Regions from separate parts of the Homo sapiens genome. Here region 1 is linked to region 2. Evidence: promoter capture Hi-C in 16 types of primary human blood cells and fetal thymus (Javierre and others, 2016). All regions are on one chromosome and are shown on one strand. The core of a region is centred on a gene start or on the middle of the fragment in contact, and the rest is flanking DNA. Distances in the headings are between cores, read along the strand shown. Region 1 has its middle 75 kb from the start of LINC00917. Region 2 holds the start of LINC00917 (long intergenic non-protein coding RNA 917).

Region 1 (7,058 bases), core at 3,134-5,633, 74 kb before region 2:
ATTAAATCGTCTAGAAGAGGTCAGCAAACGACAGGCCGACAGCCAAAGGGGCTGTTTTCATACAGTCCGAGAGCCAAAAGTGGGTTTTTGCATTTTAAAATGGTTGAACAAATCAAAAGAGGAATTCTGTTTCATGACATATGAAAATTATGTGAAATTCAAATTTCACTGCCTGTAAAGTTTTATGGGGACACAGCCATGCCCGTTTGTTTGTGGATTGCCTAAGGTGGCTTTTATGCTACAATGGCAGGGTTGAATCATGGCAGCAAAGACCGTACGGCCCACAAATTCTAAAATATTTACCATCTGGCCGTTTACAGAAAATGTTTACTGACCCTGGGCTGAAGTGACAACGGTGGAACCTAAAACTCACATGCGTTTGTGTTTGTCTAGGGGCTGGTGGTGCGTACGTTAGCCCCTCTCGGCCGCAGAACTAGGGTTAGTCCAGATATTCCCGAGTCAGGTGTGGCTGTGGCGCTGCGTGGTCGTTGCCGTACCAGGGCGTTCTCTAGGCGGCCTTTCTGAGCATCCTTGCAGAACACATCGATTATTTTAAGTCCTCCAAACACAGCAGCAAAATTCTTGCTTGTGAAGTACCCTTCTTGCCTTAAAGGTGTGTTGAAACCTGACTTCTGCTCACAAGCCTCAGTTCTGCTGCCTAAAATAATACTCCAGGATGCTGGCAAGGGAATAGTACACTTCCTGCGAGTGTTCAGTTCACATTCTCCCAAAAATAACACCGAGACTGTTAACACCTGCGCTTTCCAACGTTTCCTCGCTCACAACAGGGAGATTAATGGGTTCCATTCAGAACGGACCTTTCTGACCTCATCTATGAAGTCGGGGAACTCAGGAAATTGCTTGCTAATCCAAATCTTGATAGTCCCAAGATCCTGACATTCTTCCTGCCCCTCCCCCTTTGCAGCCTGAAAATCCCCCCATCTGAACTGAGTTACAGCTTTGAAAGTTTTGATAAGATACCGGGCAGATTATTCCCCATGGATACATTCTAATATTTATTGAATGGGGAGATCACAGATGATGTGGTTCGACAGGATGAAAAGTGGCCCTATTAACCCCAAAGAGCTGGTCCATTAACAGAGAGAAGAAAACAGGAGCAAGCGGGAAAAAGGAAGAAGGTTGCAGTCTGTAAGACTTCATCTCTTTGTCACGTCGCGAACATCTCAAGGAAAGGTAGAAACCGTGCATGGTGTTTGCACATGCGAGATGTCTTGGGGGACCAACAGGTTCCTAGTCAATGAAGGTTTGTTCAGACCCTTGGTCATGCGGTATAGCCAATCCTCTCAGTAACCTTCTACAGTAGGTATTTCAGCCTCATTTTACAGGTGAAGTAAAATAAGTTTACTCAGGGAGAGATGGGATTTGAACCCAGGTCTCTTGGCTTCCAGGCAAATAGACTATGAACTCCTCAAGGGAAGGGACCAGGTCTTATTTAGCTGTGCGTTCCCATTACAGAGCACAGCTCTGGCACACAATAGGTTCTCCTGAAATGCACATTGACAGTGAAATGGTCTGTGTTTTCCTGACCTCCCCACTCCCTGCCTGCAGTGATTTCTCCTTCCTCTCACCTGGGGGGATGTATGGTCTCTACAAGTCACCTGGAGCTTATAACATGCTTATCTTAAACGCTACTTAACTCATCTAGAGTACTTAAAATTTTTTCATTTCATATATGGTTAATATATTCAGGAGTTTAAAAGGGTTTATGGAGGAAAGAAATTCTCCTTCCAACTTCTGTCCCCAGAGTGGTAGTCATTAACGCTGTTCACTAAATAGGTTCCACTCTCTACCTTCTAGGCACCCAGAGATTTGCAGTTCCTGCTCCCCCTGTGGCTGAGGGGATCATGTGACAAGCGCTACCAGTGACTGTGAGCAGCAGTCACATATGTCCCTTGAAGGTTGGCACAGTTTATTGTCAGCTCAAGGAAGACCTCCAGACCTCCAGAGATCCTCCAGACCTCTTTACCCTCAGGTGTGGCAACCAGCAGGCTTGATTCTTGAGTGATATATGAGCAGAGAATGCCCATTATCCCATGAGCATTTGTATAGATGAAAAGTCAACCTCTGTTGTTTAAGCCACTTTGATTTTGGGGGTCGTTTGCTACTGTAGCATCACCTGGCGTCTCCTGACTAACCCACCCAGCCTCTTGGTTCCCCTTCTAGGAAGCCGCCACTCTTACCATTTTCTTGGGTATCCTTCCAGATGTAACAACAACCCACACAAGAAAATACAGTCACCTGGTACTTAACAGCAAGATATATTTTGAGAACTTCATTGTTAGGCAACTTCATCATTGTATGAACATCATAGAGGGTACTTACACAAACGTAGATTGTATGGCCTACGGCACACCTAGGCTACATGGTACAGCCTGCTTCTCCTAGGCCACAAACCTATACAGCATGCTACTATAATGAATGGTGTAGGCAATTGCAGAACAATAGTAAGTAATTTTCTATCTAAACATAACTAAACATGGAAAAGATAATGCATTGCACTACAAGGATAGGAATTTTTTAGCTCCTTTATAATTTTTTAGCTCCATTATAAACTTATGGGATCGCTGTCATATATGTGGTCTTTTTTTTTTTTTTTTTTTTTTTTTTGAGACAGTCTCACTCTGTCGCCCAGGCTGGAGTGCAGTGGCATGATCTCAGCTCACTGCAAGCTCTGCCTCCCGGGTTGACGCCATTCTCCCGCCTCAGCCTCCCAAGTAGCTGGGACTACAGATGACCACCACCACGTCCAGCTAATTTTTTGTATTTTTTAGTAGAGACAGGGTTTCACCATGTTAGCCAGGATGGTCTGGATTTCCTGACCTCATGATCCGCCCGCCTCGGCCCCCCAGAGTGCTGGGATTACAGGTGTGAGCCACCGTGCCCAGCCATATGTGGTCTGCTTTTATGTGGTGCATTACTGCATATAATATACATTACCTACTATTCTCTGTTTTGCTGTTTTTTTTTCACTTAATATATCTTGGACATACCTCCACATCAATGTATAAATATCTGCCTCATTTTTTGACAGTTGAATTATATTCCACTCAACGTATGCATCATCAATTATTTAAACAGCACCCAGTTGTCAGGCCTTCAGTTTTCACATTTTTGCTATTACAAATCGTGCTGCAATGAATAACCTTGTAAGTAGGTTGATATGATTTGGATCTGTGTCCCCACCCAAATCTCATGTCGAATTGTAATCCCCAGTGTTGGGGGTGGGGCCTAGTGGGAGGTGACTGGATCATGGGGTGGTGTCTCATGGTTTAATACCATCCCCCTTAGTGCTATCATCATGATCATGAGTGAATTCTCATGACATCTGGTTGTTAAAAAGTATGTGGCACCTCCCCTCTCTCTTCCTCCTACTCTGGCCATGTGATTTGCCTGCTTCCCTTCACCTTCTGCCATGATTGCAAGTTTCCTGAGGCCTCTCCAGAAGCAGAAGGCGCTATGCTTCCAGTACATCCTGCAGAACTGTAAGCCAATTAAACCTCTTTTCTTTATAAATTACCCAGTCTCAAGTATGTTTTTTTAATAGCACTGCAAGAATGGACTAATACATATGTGATTTTGGACTCCTGAAATTCTATCTTTAGGGCAAATTAAGTACTTTATCTTTTTAATTTGTAAAATGAGAATAATTGTGATAACCTACCTGGACAGGGTTGTTGTGCGGATTAACGGCTTAGTACAGGTAAAATCCTCTAGCATGTAGTAAATGCCTATAAATAAATAATAAATATTTATACTATATAAAGAAATAAATATTATTTTACAATTAACTTTGGGGTAAGTTAGTGATATTAAAATAGGCAAAACAAAATTCCCAAACAAAATCACATTTAGTGAAGAAAGGGGCAGAAAAAGTTAGTGTCATGTTATTATTAATATATATGTTATTGTCAAATTTGCCATATACAGAAGAATTTCCTTCATCTATTCATCCACTTCACCATTCTTTCATCTGACAGACTTTAGTTTTTGAGAACCTACTGTGTGTTATGCTAGAAACAGGAAGTACTAATGTGAATCATACAGAAAAGCATGTGTTATTATTATCTCCACTTTACCCAAAGGTCAGAAATAAAAATAATGTTATTTTGTGTCTCACCCAAGAGTTTCTTTAATGTTGCTACTTTTTGTAAAGTAGATCAAAATTTCAAGATGATAGTTAATCTTTAAGGGGAAGTCTCATGAGTTTGCTACCTTGAGGAACTTTAAGAAATAGGTTTTTAAAAATTTTCCAAATGAGGTTGACTTGTTGGCTTCCATTAAGCTTATGTGGTGATAAGGAGAGTCACTTTTCCCACAGAGTGAGTGTCCCAGCTCCCAATTCTGCTCTTCCATTCTTCCTGCAGTTTTGGAGGGCCAGGCACTGATGCTTTCTAGAATTCCCAGAAAAAGAATTACAGCAAACTGTTCCTGCAGTAAGCTTATTATGTCTTATGTCTCAGTATTACAAAATATATTGTGGTTATTTGCTGATATTAGGCAAATGTTGATTGATTTTTATCTCAGGTCTCCTGAAGAGAAATGTTTGGACTGGATGGGTGGTCAGACTGCTTGAGATCTCCATCACCACTGCTCACACTGACACATTATCATCACCACCATAAGTATCATCATAATCATCACCACCATTATCACTGCCAATCATCATCATCGCCACCATCACCATCGTCATCATCACCATCAGCATCAGCACCATCATCATCACCATCACCATTATCATCACAACCATCACCATCATCATCATCACCATCAGCACCATCATCATCACCATCACTATCATCACAATCACCATCACCAGCATCATCACCATCATTATCACCATCATCATCACCATCACCACCACCACCATCATCACCATCACCATCACCACCACCACCATCATCACCATCACCATCACCACCATCATCATCATCACCATCACCATCACCACCACCACCATCATCATCACCATCACCATCACCACCATCATCACCATCATCATCACCATCACCACCACCACCATCACCATCACCACCATCATCACCATCACCACCACCACCATCATCATCACCATCACCACCACCACCATCACCATCACCACCATCATCACCATCACCACCACCACCACCCCCATCATCATCACCATCACCATCACCACCATCATCATCATCACCATCACCATCACCAGCACCACCATCATCATCACCATCACCATCACCACCATCATCACCATCACCATCACCACCACCACCATCATCATCACCATCACCACAACCACCATCATCATCATCACCATCATCACTACCATCATCATCACCATCACCATTATTATCACCATCATCACTACCATTATCACCACCATCATCATCATCACCATCATCACTAACATTATCACCATCACCATTGTCATCATCACAGCTACCATTTATTTTGCACCTACTATATTCTAGATACTGTACATACTGTATTTCCCTTAATTTTCACAACAACTCTAAGAACTGAAGTCAGTTATTTTCATTTTACAAAGAATGAAAACAATACTCAGAGAATTTAATAAACTTGCCCAAGGGAAAACAAGCAGTGAGTGGCAGGTCCAAGAATCTAAGTCCAGGACAACGTGATACCAAGCCCAGCGCTCTTTATGCTACACTTTGCTGTTTCTTTAAGAATCAACTCTAAGATTAAAGCACATGCAGTATGACTGAGGAGGACAATAGGATGATGATGATGTGATGATGAAAGCTACCAAGTACTGACGATGGTGGTGGTAGTGGTGGTGAAGATGATGAGTGTTGCTAGACACCACTCCAAGTGCACTACATATACTAACTCATATTAATTTTCATAAATATAATCATTATATCCAGTTTTCCAAAGAGAAAACTGAGGCTCAGAGAGAGTAAGCTACTCAATGGCAGCAAAGCCTGCCAACTCTGGGACTCATGAGGTTAGGTGACCTTGTAACGTTCTGTCTCCGTCATAAGCAGCACGATGGGAACTTGTTGTGAGAATTATAAAAACTCCCCCAACAAAATCTCCTGCATGGTATTTGTTTAGTGAAATCCTTATTATTACTGCGGTTACTAATATTATTGGTGCTGGTTTTGCTACTATTATCATAATCATCATTATTGAGCTTCTACCCATTCTGTAAATAAATTGTGAGAGGTTAATTGAAGTTCTTAGGAAGGACCAAATTTGGTCAATAGAAGACTTAAAATGCTGCGCCACTCTCTGTGTCTTCCAGTTTTTTTTACACAGAGTGTCTTAAAGGGTAGTGTCAGTATTACTTGGTCTTTGTGGGACATTTGTGTGTGCTGAGTATCCTGAGTGCGTATTTTAACTGATCCCCAGAAGCACAGAAACGGAAGAAAGTTTAGCAGTGACCCACATTCTGTATGTTTGATCTTGCCAGGGTGAAAACCAGGGCACAGCAGAGCCTATGATCTCTGCCTCTTCAAAAACCACTGTGCATAGAGAAAAATAAAACACCTACTGGGTGCCCAGGTCTTGCCCAAAAGTGAAAGACAATTCCTTCATTCTCAAAGAGCTGATTATCTGATTATGTTGACTACTCCAAGCCAAAATGGATGAGACTATGTTTTTTTTTTAAAATTTTAACAGTCTTTTAAATATAATTACAGGCTAAAAAAATGAGAAAGACCATGGTTTAACAGTTTGTTTGGCTTTGAAAATTGAGTGAGGATGCAGACAGAAGTAGAAACATATTTAATGTCCCCACCCTCCCTGATGGAGGTTTCCTGCCAAATGGGAAATATGAAAAGGGGCAGCAGCCTCCACGTGGTGCACCTCTTGGACTCAGGTCAGGGGCTCCCCGTGTACTGAGTCCCCATGCTGTGCCTGGCTGCATGGGTGGACACCGTTCCAGTGCTCAAGGAGCTGTCTGCTTGGAGGGGCGAGGCAGGTGAGCACACGTGATCACAGTCTACCTGCAACAGGTGCTGGGAGGAGCCAGGCAAGGCTGCAAGACAGCAAGGAGCATGCTCAGCACCTGCTGGGCCTAGGCTTGATTTGGCGAT
Region 2 (7,016 bases), core at 1,025-3,524:
GCTGTTTGAAGAAAGCTTAGGAAAGGAATGATGAGACCCGTGACTTCAGTCAAGCCTTTGCTGAACATATAAGGAAACAGAGAGGGTCATGAAGTGGAAGGACTCACACAGCCACCCCTCCTTCAGTGGGGAAAGCGAGCCTGGGAACATGCTCAAGCCCCTTTGGGGTGGGGGGTGGGAAGATGGCGACAAGCAGTTCCTTGTGGACCCCGGTCCCTGACCCCACAGAGTGGGGACCCCAAGGGCAGTGAGGGGCAGAGTGAGTTTGTACCAGGCACTGGGACCCCAAGCTCCCTCTCTCTGGCCATGGCTGTGGGGGTCCCCAAGTGGAAGTGGAAGAGGGAAACTGAGGAAAACAAAATGGTCCTGCTTGAGAGAGGGAACATGGGCTGCTTTCTCCTCCCCCACCAGCTAGTCCAGTGAGCCTCATCTGTTCTCACGCTACTAATAAAGACATACCTGAGAATGGGGAATTTATAAAGAAGGAGGTTTAATGGACTCACAGTTCCACATGGCTGGGGAGGCCTCACACTCATGGCAGAGGACAAAGGAGAGGCAAAGGCAGGTCTTACATGGTGGCAGGCAGGAGAGCTTGTGACAGGGAATTCCCATTTAAAAAACCATCAAATCACGTGAGACTTACTCACTACCATGAGAACAGCATGGGGGAAACCACCTCCATGATTCAATGATCTCCACTTGGCCCTGCCCTTGACATGCTGGGATTATTACAATTCAAGGTGAAATTTGGGTGGGGACACAGCCAAACCGTATCAGAGCCTTTGAGATGTGTCGAGGCTGCCACCCCAGCTGAATTCATCAGCAGGACAGGAAGGGGGCTGGGAAGGGCTGTAACTTTCTTGCTCTGTGATCCAAGCTGAGACAGAAATGTTTGTTGAAAGGGGCTGGGGTCAAACAAGCCTGGGTTCAAATCCTGTCCCACCCTTGCTTGTTCTGTGACCTCGGAAGTCAGTTCCCCTCTCTGAGCTTCCTTTGTCTCATCTGTAAAATGGGGACAAAATATAAAATGTAAAAATACAAACCAGGAAGTTGGAAGTCATACACTTTCTGATTTCAAAAGTTACTAGAAAACTATGACAATCAAAACACTGTGGTCCTGACCTACATACAGACAGATAGACCAATGGGACAGAACACAGAGCCCAGAAAGAAGCCCTTTGACTTATTTGACATTCAAGTGTCTTGAGCCAAGACCCTTCAGTGGGGAAAGGGCAGTCTTTTCAAAAAATGGTATTTGGAAAACCAAATACCACACGCAGAAGAATGAAGTTGAGCCCTTCTCTTACACCAGATACAAAAAATTAACTCAAAAAGGATCAAAGGCATTACCATAATAACTAAATGTAAAAAAACTACAAAACTCTTAGAAGAAAACATAGGGGGAAAGCTTCACAATGTTGGACTCGGCAGTGGCTTCTTGGCCACGACACCCAAGAACAGGCAAGAAAAGGAAAAACAATTAAATCCATGCAAACACGTGTGCACAAATGTCCTCAGAGCGCTATTCCTAACAGCCAAATGCTGAGAGCAACGAAAATGTTCATTGACAGGAGAATGGATAAACAAAACGTGGTCCATCCATACAGTGGAATATTATTCAGCCTTAAAAAGGAAGGAAGTTCTGACACCTGCTATGACATGAGTGAGCCTTGAGGATATGGTGCCGAGTGAAACAAACCACTCATAAAAGGACAAACATTGTATAATTCCACAGACATGACTTGCCTAATGTCAGCAAATTCTCAGAGATAGAAAATAGCAGGTGGCGGAGGGCTGCTCAGGGTTACGGGGATGGGGGTGGTGTTTAACAGGGACCTTCCTGAGCTATTTCCTGATAGCAGCTGGGAGCCTTTTGAACAGCCTGCAGCGGGATTCTGGAACAATCTAAACTGGCCATGGCAGTTCCAGGGGCAGGGCTGACTTTGAACTCCAGCAGGAAGTGCAGTGCGAGGCCAGCTCACCCACTTCAGCGTCTCTTTCCTTTGTGTTGTTTAGACCCCCAAAAACACCCCCAAGTCCTGTCTCCCCTTGTGGAGGAAAGGCTGGTGGGAGGAAAGAAGGCTTGTTGAGTATCTACTGCACACCCGGCCCTGGGGCTACGGCTGGAAGCTGGACAGGCCGGGTCCTTGCCCTCCTGAGACCTGCCTTCTAGTGGGGAGAGAGATAGAGACGGAGGAAACAAAACACAGACCAGAGGATTTCAGAGGGTCTGAGGGCTCCGAGGAGAAGGAACACGATGATGTCATAGAGTCATTGTGGGGGAGGGGCCGGCCAGCCAGGGCAGGCAGGGGCGGCCTCTCTGACGAGAAGGAGGCCACTGGGCTGAGGCCAATGAATGGGAAAGAGCCAGCCATGTGGTGAGCTGGGAGAGGGCATCCCAGGCCGTGCGACCTGCGCTTGCAAAGGCCCTGGGGCCGGACAGTTCTTGGCAGAGTCTGAGGTACAGGATGATCCCTGGATGAGCGCCTGAGTGCACGAAGCATGGGTGGAGAGGGTCAGCTCCCAGCGTGGCTGCAGGAGGGGGTCGTGTAATGAATACTAAGTGCCAGTTCTGCAGGATGGAAACAGTTTTGAAATTGGACGGTGGCGATGGTGGTGCGATAATGCGAATGGACCCAATGCCACTGAAATATTCACTTTAAAAAAGTTAAAATGGCAAGGTTTACATTAACTAGACTTTGCCATAATAAAAGAAAAAGGAAAAAATATAATAACTGTGTGAAGTTGAGATGAAATGATGCAACTAATAATTTAGTTTGGTTAGCAAAGAGTAGGCACTCACATAGTTCAATATAACCATCATTATGACGGTACCCTGTCAGTGCTGGGGGATGCTTTATGAGGGAGGTGGAAGACGAGGAGGAGGCGGAGAGAGAAAGAGAATCAGCTTCTGTTATCCACAGCAGGATGCCTCTGGAGTTGTTTGAAGTAGAAAGGTAGTCCATGTGATCCCGTTTATATTGTAATATTGCTTGAGTAGGTCTTTAAAATTACAAAGTACTAGATAGAGCTAACTCAGCCCAGTCCTAATAATCACGACTCCTTGAGTATCTGTGAGGCTTCTGGTACGTTCTCTACAGTCCCAACATTGGGACCGACTGAACCATGTGTTGCACATTAAATCCAGGGTCCGGGACACCTCCCAGGCCACCTCTGTCATTTCACAAGTGCCAGGCCATCTTCTCAGTGCTTGTGAGCATCCCTTCACACTCAATCCTTCCCACACACCTGCCAAAGGGAAGGAGGCAGGAACCACCTACGGATGCCAAGAAACAGGCGGCATGGTCCTCCCGCCCTCGAGGCTGTTACCACCTGGAACACCCCACCCCAAAAGTAAGACCACCTACCATCTGGGCTTCTGTCTCACACAGGATATAGCCTCTCAGTGGCCAACTGTTTTTAATAAGGGTCTGCCAGTTCTAATGATATTGCACAGACACGGGGAAGGGGAGAGAGGAGACAGGACTTTGTCATGAGCTGTTCATCCCTCCAACAGCAGTGCTGGTGTCACGGCTGATGGGCAAAATTCCTACAGATGCCTTCTCTTAGAAACTCACTTCCCTCTGGAACCAGACGCAGGCTTCTCCAGGAAACAGCTCACTACCTGACACAATCCCCAACCCCCCTCTGTCTTCTTTTCCCTTTTGCTTGGGAGAGCGTTTTGGGCCACTGCCAAGAGAGAGAGACCTTAGGCTGCGCACCGAGTCCAGGCATCTATGTTTACTAAGGAACCAAGAGTCCCTCTCTTGAAAAAGAAAGAGAAGAGAATTTTTTTTTCTTTCCTGTGAAAGCCATTGCTGTGGCTAGGGCCATCAGAAGCGTACTCGCTTTATCTAAAGCCCCCAGAGGGCCTGCATAGCCCACTTTGCTTCTCCATGGCATAAGGGAACTCCTCAGGCACCCTGGGCTTTTCCTCTGGCCTGAAACAAACTCCTGCTGTCCATGCAGATCTGGACTGTCACCCAATCCCCTGTCTGCTGAGACCCCTAATAGGATATCTGGCAGTGAGAGACGGCATCTGATCTTATCAGCTTCTTCTCTGGCAAGCCTGGCTCCACCAAAATAACTTTTATCTGGAAATAAAATAATGCAATTAATGTCCTGACTGTCTGATACCCTCTCGAGTGATCTCAGCTCTGATGATTTCATGGGGGGCCCCCTGTCTGCTAATTGCCCAGAGCATTTATTAAGTCAAAGGCATTTGGTTGGAAAACAAAGCCAGTGAGTGAACAAGGATCTTATGCAATGAAATGAATACACAGCACAGGGTTTTTTTTTTTTTTTCGTTTTCTCTTTCTCTATTTGGATCTAAAATGGCTCCGTTCCCCGCACCCCACCCCTTCCCGGGGCAGGAAAAGTGCATGCCCCTCGCAAGCGTCGTGACTGCATTTACGTCACCTAGGAATTTTCTTTTTCTGGCTTACTCTCTGGCATCACCCGGCCGAGAGGCTCCAGGAAAATCGTAAACCCTGTTGAATGGCACCGCAGTAACGGCCAGTCCCATCGCAACATGCTGTGCTTTTTGTCTTGTAATGTCAAAATGAACTTGGCCGGGAACCTGAAGCCGCCAGCTGTGTGCCAGCTTGGCTTTCCGTGTTTCTGATGGGGGGTGGGCTCCAAAGTGGGGAGGACTGAGCAGGCCCCAGCAAGCTCGCTCCGGGACCTTGGGGGGCTCAAATCAGGCTGCCCGGCATGGGATTGTCTCGACGGCTCCGAGAGCCCATCCAGAACCTTCTTATACTCACGTAGGGCTGGTGCAGCGCACACAGGAAGCCCTGGATCCAGATGAACTCAGTCTGCCTGCCTCTGCCAGGAATAGCTGTGTGACCTTCAGGGAAGCAGTTTGTCTCTCTGGGCTTTAGTTTCCTTGTCTGTAAAATGAGGAGAGACTGGAATGGGTTAGGAGTTTTTAGCTCATCTCATCCTGGGACCTTATTTTCTAAGGAAACCTTCCCAAGATGTGTCCTTTGTAAAATAGAAAACAGTTGAGATCTTCTGCTTGAAGCAGACGGCTGGTACCTCAGTCCCAACTGCTAAGTGCTCCTGGCTTCTTTTCCAGGAAGATTCTGGGGGTCAGACCACCAAATGCTCTCTGAGGGGAATTTCAAGCTTGTGCTTCTGTGTTCTACGATTTGCCAAAACCAGCTTCATTCAATCAGTCAATCTGTATCTATTGATCCACCTATATCAAGCTTGTCCAACCCAAGGCTCTAGGGCCACATGTGGCCAAGGAGAGCTTTGAATGTGGCCCAACAGAAATTCCTAAACTTTCTTAAAACATTATGAAATTTTTTGTCATTTTCTTTTTTTAGCTCATCAGCTATGGTGAGTGTTAGTGTATTTTAGGTATGGCCCAAGACAATTCTTCTCCTTTCCATGTGGCCCAGCCAGAGAAGCCAAAAGAGGACACCCCTGATGTATATCTCCTACCTAGATATCAACTAGGCTTGCCCTTATTTATCGCCAAACTTCAACATGTCTGAGAGTCCCCCAGAGACTTGTTCAAACATGGACTTCCGGGCCCCACCTCTGCAGTTTCTGATTGATTGGGGTCTGGGCTGTGGATTTCTAGCAAACTCCCAGATGAGACCGATGCTGTGGTTCCAGCTCACCCCCTGGGGATCCCCAAATCCTCTTCCATATTTGCTCACAGAGAGGGTTTCTTCACCTTGATTTTAGATATTTGAGCAGAAACTAAAGTGTGAAGGACAAGAACGGTGCTCTCTATTTCCGACATGCACAGAGAGGAATAGTCAGAAGGGATTGTGTCCAGTTTTGAAGGCTCTGTGCTGCCCTTTGGGGCCCAAAAGCATTTGCGTCATGGGATACTTGCATTTACTAAACTAATCTTTTCTCTTACAATTAGGGCATAAAAGTCTGACTAGTTGTAGTTAATCTGATTAACACACCCTACAGCCCAGTTCCATCCCATCCTGGGTGAGCAGCTAGTGGAATTCTCACACATCCATAAGGGACATGTGCCTCCATGTCCCTCATGGTGTCGTTTATGATGGTGAGAGCTGAGGAGCTTACCACTGGGACAGTGGACAGTACAGCGTGGGGCGCCCCCCATGGAGTGAGGGGTGCCAGCTAGGGACAGTGCATATGGACCCAATACAGTGGGTGTGTCTTAATACCTTGCTGAGGGTTGGGGTGGGGTGGGGAGGGGAGAAAAATAGAACGAAATATCTAACACAAGACCATTTATGCAAATTGTTTCCACACTAAGAGCACCCTTTAGACCCGTTGGAACCGTTGCCCACAGGCAGAGAAGGAATGGGAGTAGGAAACCCTCAGGAGGGGGCTGGAGAAATAAAACGAGAGAGGGGTTCCGTCGGGCCAGGGACGAAAATGGTGCACCAGCAGCCGAGGGCTGCCGTTTGTTGGCCGTCTGCACCTGAGGTAAGAAACCAGCACAGAAAAAGTGGAAAAATTAAAATGTGCGTCTTGGGCATCCACAGACAGCACTAACGACTTCTTTCCCTCCAGCCTCTTTACCTTTGTTAACCTCACATTGCCTGTTCTCATCACAGCAGGACAACTAAGCCCTGGCTCCGTCCTGGCGCCCGCGCTCCCTGTGTGTCCACAGTGGCCGGGGAACTTGGGGGCATGGCCAGTGGAAAATTAGAGAAAAGAATGACTCATCTAGGTTCCTTTTTCCTTTGTTCTCATTCCCCTCATGATCAGGGATGACTGTGGCTAATTTCCTTTGTGCGGTTTTAGGGCAAAGTCGGTTTGTAGTGAACTCACGCACGGTTCACGGACCTGGCTACATCAGTTGCAATCAAGGCACTTGTTTAAAAAACCAACACAACCACTAAATTCCCAGGGTCCACTCCATACCAGATTCTCTGGGACGGGGGTTAAAGAATCTGCAGGTGTGTGTGTGTGTGTGTGTGTGTGTGTGTGTGTGTGTGTGTGTGTGAAGTTTCCTTAAGTTTTCCAGGTGTTGGGGATGAAACCCAAGTGGGAGCTGGGCTTGTGCCCCCAACCTG

What was found. The method cuts DNA at HindIII sites, captures the fragments that hold promoters and counts their contacts. A CHiCAGO score of 5 or more calls a contact.
Region 1: a fragment that was not itself captured here is called in contact with the fragment with the promoter of LINC00917 in region 2 in 1 of 17 cell types (endothelial precursors); the score reaches 6.0 in endothelial precursors.

The regions. Positions count from the first base shown.
Region 1 is chr16:86,417,433-86,424,490 of GRCh38, reverse strand. No RefSeq gene overlaps it. Among named protein-coding and RNA genes, the nearest start is that of LINC00917, 75 kb to the right of the region's middle. The HindIII fragment of the contact is 156 bases long and covers 4,306-4,461 here.
Region 2 is chr16:86,340,937-86,347,952 of GRCh38, reverse strand. LINC00917 (long intergenic non-protein coding RNA 917) reads left to right here and starts at 2,274. Exons shown (of 7, transcript NR_024406.1): 1 at 2,274-2,461. The HindIII fragment of the contact is 3,722 bases long and covers 1,411-5,132 here.